Regions from separate parts of the Homo sapiens genome. Here region 1 is linked to region 2. Evidence: promoter capture Hi-C in human tissues and cell types (Jung and others, 2019). All regions are on one chromosome and are shown on one strand. The core of a region is centred on a gene start or on the middle of the fragment in contact, and the rest is flanking DNA. Distances in the headings are between cores, read along the strand shown. Region 1 overlaps PSG6 (pregnancy specific beta-1-glycoprotein 6). Region 2 holds the start of PSG11 (pregnancy specific beta-1-glycoprotein 11).

Region 1 (6,153 bases), core at 2,097-4,596, 130 kb after region 2:
ATACAACTGATGTTTGAATGTTGATTTTGTATTGTGCAACATTACTGAATTTATTAATTCTAATAGGTTTGTTCCATCTTTAGGATTTTCTACAAATAAGTTCAAGTTATCTATAAACAGAAATAATTTTACTCCTTCCTTCCAATTTGAATGTCTTTTTAAAAATTCTTCCCTAATTTTTCTGATTAGACCTTTCACTACTATGTTGAATAAAAGTGTCAATAGCAGGCATCCTTGTCTTTTCCTGCTCATACAGGGAAAGTTTTCAGTCTTTCTCTGTTATGTAAGATGTTAGCATTGGGTTTTTCACATATTGCCTTTATGTTGAGGTGGTTGCCTTCCATTCTTAGAATGTTTTTATTATGAAAAAATACTGAATTTCATCAAATGCTTTTATTGATTCAATCTTCTTACTGATTATAGTTATATTCATATTTTTGTGTGTTTCTAGGAGTTTGTCTATTTCATCTAGGTTATCCAATTTATTGGCATACAATTATTTATAGTACTTTCATAATCATTATTTTATTAGAATTGGTAGTAATCGCTTCATTTTTCTTTTTTCTTTTTCTTTTAAGACAGAGAGACAGGCTCTCACTCTGTAGGCCACCCTAGGATGGAATACAGTGGTGTGATTATGGCTCACTGCAGCCTCAACCTCCTGGGCTCAAGCAATTCTCCTTCTTCAGCCTCCCAAGATGCTAGGACTACAGGTGCATGTCAACATGCCCAGCTAATTGGTTTTTTTTTTTTTTGTAGAGACAGCATCTCCCCAGGTTACCTATGCTGGTCCAAACACCTGGTTTCAAGAAATCCTTCTGCTGTGACCTCCCAAAGTGCTAGGATTAAAACATGACCCACCATGCTCAGAGTCCATTTTCATTTATGATTTGAGTAATTTTATCTTTTCTCTTTTTTTCTTAGCCAATCTAGTTAATGGTTGTCAATTTTGTTGATTTTATTTTGAAGAATCAACTTTTGGTTTCAGTAATTTCCTCTATTCTGTTTCCATTCTCCATTTTATTTATATCCACCCTAATACTTATTATTTCCCTCATTCACTGTGCTTGGGTTTAGTTTGTTCTTCTTTCGTATCCTGAAGTATTAAAGTAGGTTGTTGACCTGAGCTCTTTCTTCTTTTTTAATGTAAGAGTTTACAGTTATAAATTTCTTGCACAAGACTCAACTTCTCTGAACCCCTGATTCCTCACCTGAAAATTGCAATAAGAGTACTTTCTTCATACCATTCTTTTAAAGGTTTAATGCAGTCAATGAAACAAGATGCCACACAAAGAGGAACCAATGTCAGCTGCTATATTACTACCATCATCATTAGCCTTGAGGTCAAATAGTCCTAGAATCAAATCTCAGATCCACCTGTCACTAGCCATATGACACCAGGAAAGTTTTTACACCATGCTAAGCTTCTGTCTTTTCATCAGCAAAATGGAAATAATGCCTACCTGACAGGGTTATTGTGTGGATTAAATGAGATACAGGTAAAGTATTGAGCACAGGGCCTGGCACATAGAAAGTGCACCTCAACAGTACCTACCTTTTTCCATAGATATGAAAAAAGCGGTAACACATAAAACACTAGGACATGGTTACTGACTAATTGTGGGAGAGAAAGAAAAAAAGCTAAGTGCAAAGAATCAAGTCTGGTATGTTAGTTTTTACCAACTGAGATGCATCCAAGATGGGATTAGACATACAAGATAATTTATCAGGGAAGACACCTGTGAGGGAATGTGGGGCAGGCATGAAGGTAGTATGGGAGAACCCACAGACCGCTATGCAGAGCTGATTCCTGTGAAAAAGAAAGAGAAAGAAGTTTTAGGTACCAATGCAGTTCTAAGAGTTTTTGCAAGGCTGATGAGGAATCCTCCAACCAGTCACCCATTGGAGTTAAAGAGAGCCTCGGAGAACTAGACTTGCTTTCACACCCTTGCTGGGAGCCTGTGGGAAAGAAGCTTTCTCTGTAAAGGAGGTAGTGAATTTGAAATGCGCTGACCTGGGCCTTCTGTCAATCAGGTCCCTGCCATGGAAACCAGACAGAGTCTCATTAATGGCTGCCACAATAGAGACACTGAGAAAAAGAACAGGTTGATACCTTCATGAAATTCAAGACAAAGAAGAAAAAAACTCAATGTTATTGGACTAAATAATCAAAAGGATAATGTTTTCATAATTTTTTATTGGAAAATGTGCTGATTCTTGGAATGTTTTATTCTCCAGATTTATGAACTTTTTTTCTTCAGCAATTGGTAAAGTATACTTTTGTAAACAAAAATTGAAACATTTGCTTTTGCTCTCTATCTGAGTGCCCCAGAATTGGGAAACTATTCATGAGTATTCATAGGTTTATGGTAATAAAGTTATTTGCACAAGTTCAGTAAGAATCTGCTCTCTTTATAACAGGACACATTTGAAAACATTGGTTATATTACCAAAGCTTTTACTGGGATGTTATATTTGATAATATACCTAGAATAAACCCATAGGGAAAGCAGGCAAAGTCTGAAGTTGGTCTTGGTTTAGTTTCCTAGTCTCAAGAGGTTTTTGGAAGTTTCATCTGAGATTCTTATTAAAAACTTCTAGCAAAGGGACGTTTAAAAAGAGCCTCTATGGTCCACGGCTACTCTTGCCGCACTTAGGTAAAAAATCTGGGCAAGTTCGGTGAGACTCAACCTATTTTGCAAACAAATTCATCCTACTGGAATTATCTTTGGTAAAATTAGAGACTCCTATAGAGAGAAAAACTAGTTGAAAAGAAAAACTGTAGTACACCTGTTACCAGATTGAACCACTACTGTTCATTATCTTTGAGTATTTATAATCCACTGGTAGACTGGACTGGACCCTGAATTCTTTTAGTTCTTCCAATTCAATTTTCTCCAATGAAATCATTAAGAACAAGAGCAGCTCTGTTCCTGAAGCCATATAAGCTGGAGGTGGACAACTCAATGTAAATTTCATGGGAAAACCCTCGTGTCTGAGGTGTGGGCCACTAAAAGCTCACCAAATGTTCAACACCATAACTTAGAGACACTCAAACTGCAAACCACGACAACAAGTTGATGACTTTACACTGTGGACAGCTTTTCTCAAGATGTCAGAACAAGACTATCAATCATGATGAGACTCTTACCTCTCTTAATTTCTCCTTGCTTATGCCTGTCTCCTTTGCTTCCCAGAATAATGCTGTACTTAGGATTTCACAAGAAGTAGCTTCTGAGAGTAAGTTAACAGTGTCAGATATATCATGTCAACCACACTTCATTTATTTTTTAAGATGGAGTTTCACTCTTGTTGCCCATGCTGGAGTGCAATGGGACAATCTTGGCTCAATACAACCTCCGCCCCCTGGGTTCAAGTGATTCTCCTGCCTCAGCCTCCCAAGTAGCTGGGATAACAGGCATGCACCATCATGCCCAGCTAATTTTGTATTTTCAGTAGAGACAGGGTTCCTCCATGTTGGTCAGGCTGGTCTCGAACTCCCGACATCAGGTGATCCACACGCCTCAGCCTCCCAAAGTACTGGGATTACAGGCATGAGCCACCGCACCCAGCCAACACATTTTTACATAACAAGACATCCTTTAAAGCTCCTGATTATTGTAAGTACAAAATTGCATGAAGGATTGTGTAAAGAAAAATGCCAGGTTGGACTGCCAGAATGAGCCAACAGCACGTGATGTGCTTCCCCCTGCAGAGAGCCTATGAATGGATGGGCAGTCAGGGAGGTTTCACATTACCAAGATTCCTATCCCAGAAAAGCAGATGTCTGTAGCTCTGGGAAAGGAATGTGACCCTTATGGAGAGCCTATAAATGACCCTAAATCCCTCACTAAACTACCCCCACTCTCACTAAACTTAATAATAAATGCTGGTGTATCCAGTGCATTGGCAGCATCGCAGGACCAGAAGGCGGTGACACCCCTGGACACAGCTTTCCCTATCTTGTGTGTGTCCTTTATTTCTCAACTTGCCGATCTGCCTGGGAACAAAGAAAGAGCCCTGTTGCATTGCAGGTTGCTGGCCAGATCCCACAATATAGTCCCAGCTACTTGGGATGCTGAGGCATCTGTAGAGGGAGAGCTGCCCCAAATCATAAATCACAAATAAAAACCAATTACATCTATAACTAAATCAGTTGTAATTTTGTCTTATCACACATGTTCACAGCAAGCAATGGCCAGTGGAGTCTCTCAGACTGCATCATTCTCACCCTGACCCTCCTGCCTTGCTCTTTCACTTACAAGGACCCCTATGATGACACTGGGAGCCATCCAGATAAGCCAGAATAAGCTTTCCATCTCAAGATACTCAACCTCATCACCTTTGAACAGTGTTTTTGCCAAGAAAAGTAAATGCATGTGTTCCAAGAGTTAGGATGTGGATTTTTTTTTTTTTTGAGACAGTTTCACTCATGTTGCCCCGGCTGGAGTGCAGTGGGACAATCTAGGCTCACTGCAATCTCCGCCTCCCAGGTTCATATGATTCTCCTGCCTCAGCCTCCCAAGTAGCTGGCATTAAAGTTGCCCGCCACCACGCCCAGCTAATTTTTGCATTTTTAGTAGAAACGGGGTTTCACCTCGTTGGCCAGGCTGGTCTTGAACTCCTGACCTCGTGATCCACCCGTATCAGCCTCCCAAAGTGGTGGGATGACAGGCGTGAGCCCCTGCACCCGGCCCGGATGTGGACATTTTTAAGAGGCCATTATTCTGCCTCATACGGGTCACTTTCATAAACATCACCCACAACAAAAATGTTTTGCCTTCCTTCCATGTCTCACTTTTCTGTCTGCACAAACCACAGTGAAACACACTAGCTCTGCTATGAAGTGGCTGGATGACCCTGGGCCACTCATTTGACTTCCCTCAGCCTCTTTCCTCATCTGCAGTGTAAGGCTGACTCTTACTGCATCAGAAAATGACAGTGGAAGAGTAAATTAACATGTGTAAGACATTAGTCACAGAGCCTGGTACCTGATGAGCCCTTGGTAAACATTCCTTTCAGTCCTTTCCTTTCACCTTCCCATTTTTCTTGCCCTCACCCATCTTCTCCTTCAACTCCTTTCTCTTCAGTAACTTACTCAGTCTAACCTGACAATTAAAGAAGCCACACTAACCATTCTCTCATGACTCTGCTGGAATGTTCTTGTGATGCGGTCTGCTATCCACTCAAGGCAGGAGGTATTATTTATATAGAGAGGTCTGTTTGCAACAAGAAATCCTTTTTCTGTTCACAAAAATTTATACACAATTTCTCTTAACTTACATGTAGCAGTCTCAATTCTACCCTGTTATTTCATTCATGTACTTCATTATTTTATTCTTCAGTCTTTCTGCTTACACCTTAAAAATTAGGATAGCACAAAAACAAAAATAATGGCCTGGGCCAGAAGAGGGGATTCCTTTAGCAAGATGAATGCTTTCCTTTTTCAAGATGAATGAATGCTATGTGCAAGGCAGCCCTGAAGCCCATTTCTGGGTTTGGCTTACATCAAAGCCATTTGACTCTAGAACACATTCTTAGATTCCCAGGAGATAATGATTGTCACGGAAGACACACCCACTCTGAGTATTCCTACTGTTGGGTAAAGGAATGTTTGCAGAATGTTGTGCATTCTGTTTACTCCTCCTAAATTCTTCCACTCCTGGAAGTTAAGCTTCCCTACTAATCAGCTTCATCTCCAGCTGGCCTGCCTGGACCCTGACCAGAAAATATCTCCCCACTCTGGATGGCCAGGGTGATACCTTTGTATATTCCCATAATTATAATAGCTCACACTGATGCAGCACTCACTATGCACCAGGCACTATCCTAAGAGCTTTTCAGGTAACTATAGTGCTCACCAAAAAATCCCAAGAGCCACAATCCCCATTTTTACAGATTAAAAAAAAAAACTGAGGCAGAGAATTATATACCCACTGTCACTTAAATCCATAATTCAACCTCAACCTCCAATTCTTCTGGTAAGAGGACACGCTAAGATGTACAAGGTCTCCTGAATGACATCCTCCTTCAAAAATGATTTTTGTCCCATTTACTTTCAGGATTTGACAAACAGCCAGCATTTTGTTTTCTGTCTCACCCTTCACTTATGCATCTGTTCCCTAAAACTACACTCACAACTGCACAGCCCTG
Region 2 (6,141 bases), core at 725-3,224:
ACACAAACACAAACTCACAGAAAGTGACAAACATCTGCGTTTGGGATATCTGATCGTGAAAGAGGGAGAACAGTGAACGTAGAGCCACACAGACTGGGACTCACGGGGCTGGAAGGTGAAGGAGCTATAACATAACATATGTGTGACCTTGTGTGAAGTGTGCAGATCCACGTAGAATAAAACATGCAGCCTGGCCTGGGATTGCTGCCGTTCACACTTCCCTCCCTGTCCACCAGAAGGCGACAGAGTCCCTCCCGGCCTGGAGTCTTCCCAAGGGATGCCAACCGCCCTCAGCGGAACCCACAGCCCAGCAGGGTCCACCCTCACCAGGGTCACTTCGGACTAAGTCCTCAGCGCCCTCCATGCTCCCCACAGGGTCTCTGTCAGCTCCTCCCTGACCTGGGGGCCACCAACCTAACACCACTCCCCCTACAGGTAGTTCCTGCCCCACACACCTGCTCCTTCCCTGGGCCCAGCTAAAGGCATCTCCCAGGGCAGCGCTGGTGCACGCGATGCCACACTGGGCGCTTTCCCCTCGTGACCTCCCTCCATCAACATCAACTCTTTCTGTCACTGCTCCCTAAATGCCCACCCCTGCTCCATCTGTCCTGTTCACTGGGGCATCCCAGGCCAAGCTTAGCGCTGACACAGAATAGCGGCTGCCTGAGGGCCCACAGCCTCACCGGGAATCAGCCAGGCACCCTGTGACCTGCCTGCTCACTGAACCCCGGAGGGCTCAGAGCGCGTGTGATGGTCACACACAGGCACCATCCGGGATGTGGCCACCTACCCCCAGCTGTCTCTTGGGAAGACAGACGTCTCCCGTGTGCTTGCGGGGAGAAGGGGGGTGTTATTGCTCTTTGCTCCCAGAACACAACTCACCCCCACCCGCCCTCTCAGGTGTGAGCTACGTCCCTCCAGACAGGATCTCTGGCCACTGCCTGTTCCTCCTCTACACACAGCAGCTTGGCCAGGTCAAAACCCTCAGGACAGACCCCTGGGTATCTCAGCACATGGAGGGCTGAGCCCATCATGGCCACGGAGTAAGTCGGGATGAATCTCTCCAGCTCTGAACCCCTGCTCTGTCCCAGGCTCCTCCTCCTGCGTCTCAATAAGTCATGTCCCGCGGGATTCCTGGGTAACTCCCCACTTCCTCCTGCACCACCACGGGGAAGGTGTGGTGACCACAGGACAATCAGCTCGGCAGAGAAGAAAGGACATCAAAGATTGTCAGGAAGAACATGAGAAACCAAGAGCTCCAGCTCAGCTGCCAGACCCCATGGAGTCACAGAGTGACCGAGAACTTTCCCTTTGACTATGGGACTCACAGCCCCCACTGAGCAACCAGCACAGGCCTCTCCTCCCAGGAGGCATGAAAGATTCACCCTGCACACCTCCAGGAAGGACAGTTTCCTCTGGGAAACCCAGGTCCTCAATGTCCATCCTTGGAAGCTGCAGCCAAGCTAGACACGATTGGAGAAAAGAAGGGTCCCTCTCACCAGGCAACACACAGCTCACCCACAGCACAATGGGGTGTCACTCTGACAGGGACCTGGTGCAGCTCCAGCCTCCTGCACTGAAGGGGAGAGCCAGACGGGGATGAAAGAGGGCAAAGGGTGTGAATGTGCACCCCGACCAAGAGCAATGGGGACAGCAGGAGGCTGAGGCCCAGGACTCTGCTTGCCCAACCTGCAGGGTATGTGTCTGACTGTGTGGGTCTGTGTGTGTCTCTTCTGTGTGTGTGTGTATGTGTGTGTCCGCACAAAGTGTGTATTGAGGTTTGGTGAAAGAATCACTGCTGAAAAAGGCAGAGGCCTCCACAATTCCCAGGGACCTGAAACACAGACAAAAGGAAAAACAGAAGGAGGGACAAGGAGGCAGGGCTGAGAGAGGAGGGGACAGAGAGGTGTCCTCGGCCTGACCCTGCCCATGAGCTTGAGAAGTGCTCCTTCCACCGGGAAGAGTCTCAGCGCAGAAGGAGGAAGGACAGCACAGCTGACAGCCGTGCTCTGGAAGCTTCTGGATCCTAGGCTCATCTCCACAGAGGAGAACATGCACGCAGCAGAGATCATGGGGCCCCTCTCAGCCCCTCCCTGCACAGAGCACATCAAATGGAAGGGGCTCCTGCTCACAGGTGAGGAGAGAACTTCCTGGGAGAGGACAGGAGGAGGAAGCAGAGTGACTGGATGGGGTCTCCTGGAGAGGCTCCTGGGGTTCTAAAAAATAAAAAAGCCAGCATTTAGGGAGGCTGAGGTGGGTGGATCACGAGATCAGGAGTTCAAGATCAGTCCAGCCAACAGAGTGAAGCCCTGTCTCTTCTAAAAGTACAAAAAATTAACCAGGTATGGTGGTGTGCTCCTGTAATCCTAGCTACTCAGGAGGCCAAGGCAGGAGAATCACGTGAACCAGGGTGGCGGAAGTTGCAGTGAGCTGAGATAGTGCCACTGCACGCCAGGCTGGGTGACAGTACGAGACTCCATCTCAAAAAAAAAAAAAAAAAAAAAAAGAGAAAAAAAAAAAAAAAAAGGAAAGAAGGCCCTGTTGATGCCTGGATAGGGGAAAATACACCCAAGAGGGACAGGGGTCAAAACAGGAAAGTCACATTGAACCGGAATTGGTAAGAGGTAGGAAACAGGTGTTCTGTTTTCCTGATTAATCATCAGGGGCCACCACATTTTGAAAAATGATAATAATAACTATATCAGATGACACTACAAATAAAAATAAACAGGGCATGAAACACTGTCCTCAATAAAAAACCTCAACAATTGGGGAAAAAAAAAAAAACACCCAGGGCGTGGACGGCCCTGAGAACTCTCACATCTACAGGAGTCTGCAGCCTGTTCCAGGCACTGGGGTGCAACCAAGATCACAAAAGTCCCTGTCCTCACGGAGCTCATGCTGCCATGGGGAGGAAGTCAGACATGCAAAGAGATCTAGAATGTGAGGTCAGGTGTTGACAAGAACCCTGGAGGGAGCAGAGCAGGGAAAGGTCAGAAAGGGAAGACCCAGAGTCCCTGAAGGAGGTGTCAGGAAAGAAGTCTAAGGATGCCCTGATGTGAGCAGGACCTGAGGGCAGTGTGGAGGGGGCCATGCGGACCCCTGGGGAAGAGGATTCCAAACAGAAAAATGCCAAGGTCAGAAGTGTTGAAGGAATGGGGGTCATGCTGCTGACCTTGACCTAGTAGGACAGTAGAACACACACACATACACATACACAAACACACATGCCCCTTTTCTGTGTGTGTATGTTTGTATGTGTGTGTGTGTGTGTGTGTGTGTCTTCAAGGCTGAGGATTGAAGAGACCTTCTCAGGACTCAGGGCCCCATCTTTTCACCCCAATACATAGGTCTCAATATTGACTGATGCTCTCTCCACCTCCTAGCATTACTTTTAAACTTCTGGAACTTGCCTACCACTGCCCAAGTCATGATTGAAGCCCAGCCACCCAAAGTGTCCGAGGGGAAGGATGTTCTTCTACTTGTCCACAATTTGCCCCAGAATCTTACTGGCTACATCTGGTACAAAGGGCAAATCAGGGACCTCTACCATTACATTACATCATATGTAGTAGACGGTCAAATAATTATATATGGACCGGCATACAGTGGACGAGAAACAGTATATTCCAATGCATCCCTGCTGATCCAGAATGTCACCCGGGAGGACGCAGGATCCTACACCTTACACATCATAAAGCGAGGTGATGGGACTAGAGGAGTAACTGGATATTTCACCTTCACCTTATACCGTAAGTGATTCCACATGATCCCTGGGTGTTGGGGGACAGGGGTCACTTCTACATCACACACACAGGATTGTCAGGCCTGGACATTGCCTGTGTCCCTCTCTGCATTATGTCCCATGCTGGGGTTTGGGCATTTAGTGCAGGACACACACAGAGGAGACAAATTTCAACAGATCAGAATTCCTTTCCCGCATCCAGACCCTGCAGACACTCGCTGCAGAGGAAGGACAGTCTGATGGGGGGACTCAGCAGGAGGAGATCAGTCTCAGCCAAGCACCTCATGCCCTCTTCATAAATTTGACCCTGAGAAAGACCCTGGAGAACTGAGTAGAATTTGACCTGAGGGGCCCCTGAGATACTCTCAGAGAAGCTCAGCCCTAGAAGCCTCAAACCCAGAACTCTGTACCTAAATCCTTGTTCCAGATAAAGCTGAGGAGCCTGTTCCAGGGCTGGGTTGTGGCTTCTTGGGCAGGGCTTACTGGGACCAAGAATTTACCAGCTGTCTGAGGACTGTGTCTCCTGGAGCTGTTCACCAGCCAGGGCTCAGCCCTCAGAGCCTCATCTGGGCAAGGACAGAGCTTTCTTCACCTGACACTCAGAGTGGAGAGGACAGAAAGACAAGCTTTGTAGGTCATCAGCCAACTGCCTTAGGAGGCTTAGGACAGTCCATAGAAAGTCTAATGTCCTCAGAAGCAGAAACAGAAGAGAGAAGATGTACCTGGTAGCAGCTTGTCCACAGGGATCTGACGTAAAGGTGCTTTCTCATGGAAGCAAATTAATAATAAATGCTGCTTGTGTGAACACCTCCACTGTGCCAAGCATTAGGTCAGGTGACTGTGAATAATTTAACATTTATTCACAGATAGCATGAAAAGCCACAGTCCATTTGCCATTTAACTTATCTGATTGAGAGAAAACTGAGGCACAGGAAGGCACAGTCACTGAATCAGAGTCACACAAACGCAAAGGGGAGATCAGGGTCACATGAGGTCTGTCTGCAGCCACAGGCCCATCCTCTCCTCCACCAGAAGTGAGGGCTTACTGGGTTCCAAGCACCCCATAGTCATTTATTGGCTCAAATCCTCTCTTCTTAGGCATCCAAACCTCAGAGGAGTGAGAGCAAATGGTCAGCTGATTAGTCTATACTCCAGAACTAAATCACCTGCTTCAACCATCAAAGTCAGTGCAAAAAAAATGTCCAGGCCTCCCCCTCAGATCTTAACCCCCATCACTGAACCTGAAACTCTGTGTTTCCCAAAGTGTCCATGTCACTGTCATGAGAGGATCAAGGAGAGGACCTTGTTTTCTTTCCCCACTCACTCCCTACACCAGCACAGGCCCAGCGAGAGACACACACTCAGGAGCTCTCACATAACAAATGAAGGAATGGAATGAAGAAATGAATGATCCAAAACCTCTTTAGAGACTGGATCTTGAATGCAGAATCCTAGGAGGTTCTAGCCACACCTGTCCCTTGTCCTTCAGAGGCTGACACCCATGTTTCATCCCCCCACTACCTCTTGCCCCTAAAGCCACCCCACCTCATGTAACTCTGAAGCTCTTTGGCCACCAGAGGGTTCTCGGGGCTCCTTGGTCCTGGACTGTGGAACTGGGGGCAGCTGGTTCCTGGGGGCTCTGAAGTCAGTGTCTCCCTCACTGCTCACTGCCATGGTGTCTCTGCCTCTCTCTGCTTCTCTGTGTCCCTCATCTTCCTCCCACTTCATTCTGACTGGCAAGCCCTGTCCTGCACAGCTTCTTCCCCCACCCCTAGGCCTTCCCCAGACACTCCCTCTAACTAGGCTGGCTGTTCTATTCCCTTCCCGCTAACACTGTGGCCTGGCCCACCTCCCAGGAAATAGGAAAGGTGCAGAAATCACCTGGAGTTGCCACTCCTGCCAGGCTTCATCTCGAGCCAATGTCCCCAGGTCACTAAGAGAATGAGCTTCCACTGTATTCCCATCAAGGGCTCTTCCCCTTTGTGAGGCTGACCTGTGGACAAGACCATGGGACAGGGATAGGAAGTCCCTCCAACCACTCTTATCATTGTCAGACAAGTTCTTCTGGCCTCCTGCACACACACACACAAACACACAAATTTATTGAAATGGTGATTTTTAGTAAAGAAAGATTTTAATGACTCCAAGTCTGCCAAACAGGAGGACAGAGGTTTATTATTACTGAAATCAGCCTCCCCAGTGGATCAGGGCTTAGAGATTTTCAAGGATAGTTTCAGGGGCACAGGACTAAAAAATGAGTACTGCTGATTGTTGGTGATGGAATCATGCGGGCGGAGGGAAATGATCTGTTTGTGCTTGAATCTGCCTCTAGGTAGGGACCACATGACGGGCTGAGCCATTAGTCATAGGTATGGATGAGGTCAGCTGGTTGCCAG

Evidence for each region. The method cuts DNA at HindIII sites, captures the fragments that hold promoters and counts their contacts. A contact is called where the count stands out against the background at its distance.
Region 1: a fragment that was not itself captured here is called in contact with the fragment with the promoter of PSG11 in region 2 in 2 of the 25 tissues and cell types used here (dorsolateral prefrontal cortex and mesenchymal stem cells).

What each region holds. Positions count from the first base shown.
Region 1 is chr19:42,898,328-42,904,480 of GRCh38, reverse strand. PSG6 (pregnancy specific beta-1-glycoprotein 6) reads left to right here. Exons shown (of 6, transcript NM_001031850.4): 6 at 2,035-2,395. The coding sequence ends at 2,069. Among named protein-coding and RNA genes, the nearest start is that of PSG6, 16 kb to the left of the region's middle. The HindIII fragment of the contact is 3,294 bases long and covers 1,700-4,993 here.
Region 2 is chr19:43,022,302-43,028,442 of GRCh38, reverse strand. PSG11 (pregnancy specific beta-1-glycoprotein 11) reads left to right here and starts at 1,974. Exons shown (of 6, transcript NM_002785.3): 1 at 1,974-2,134; 2 at 3,387-3,752. The coding sequence starts at 2,071. The HindIII fragment of the contact is 7,620 bases long and covers 1-3,194 here.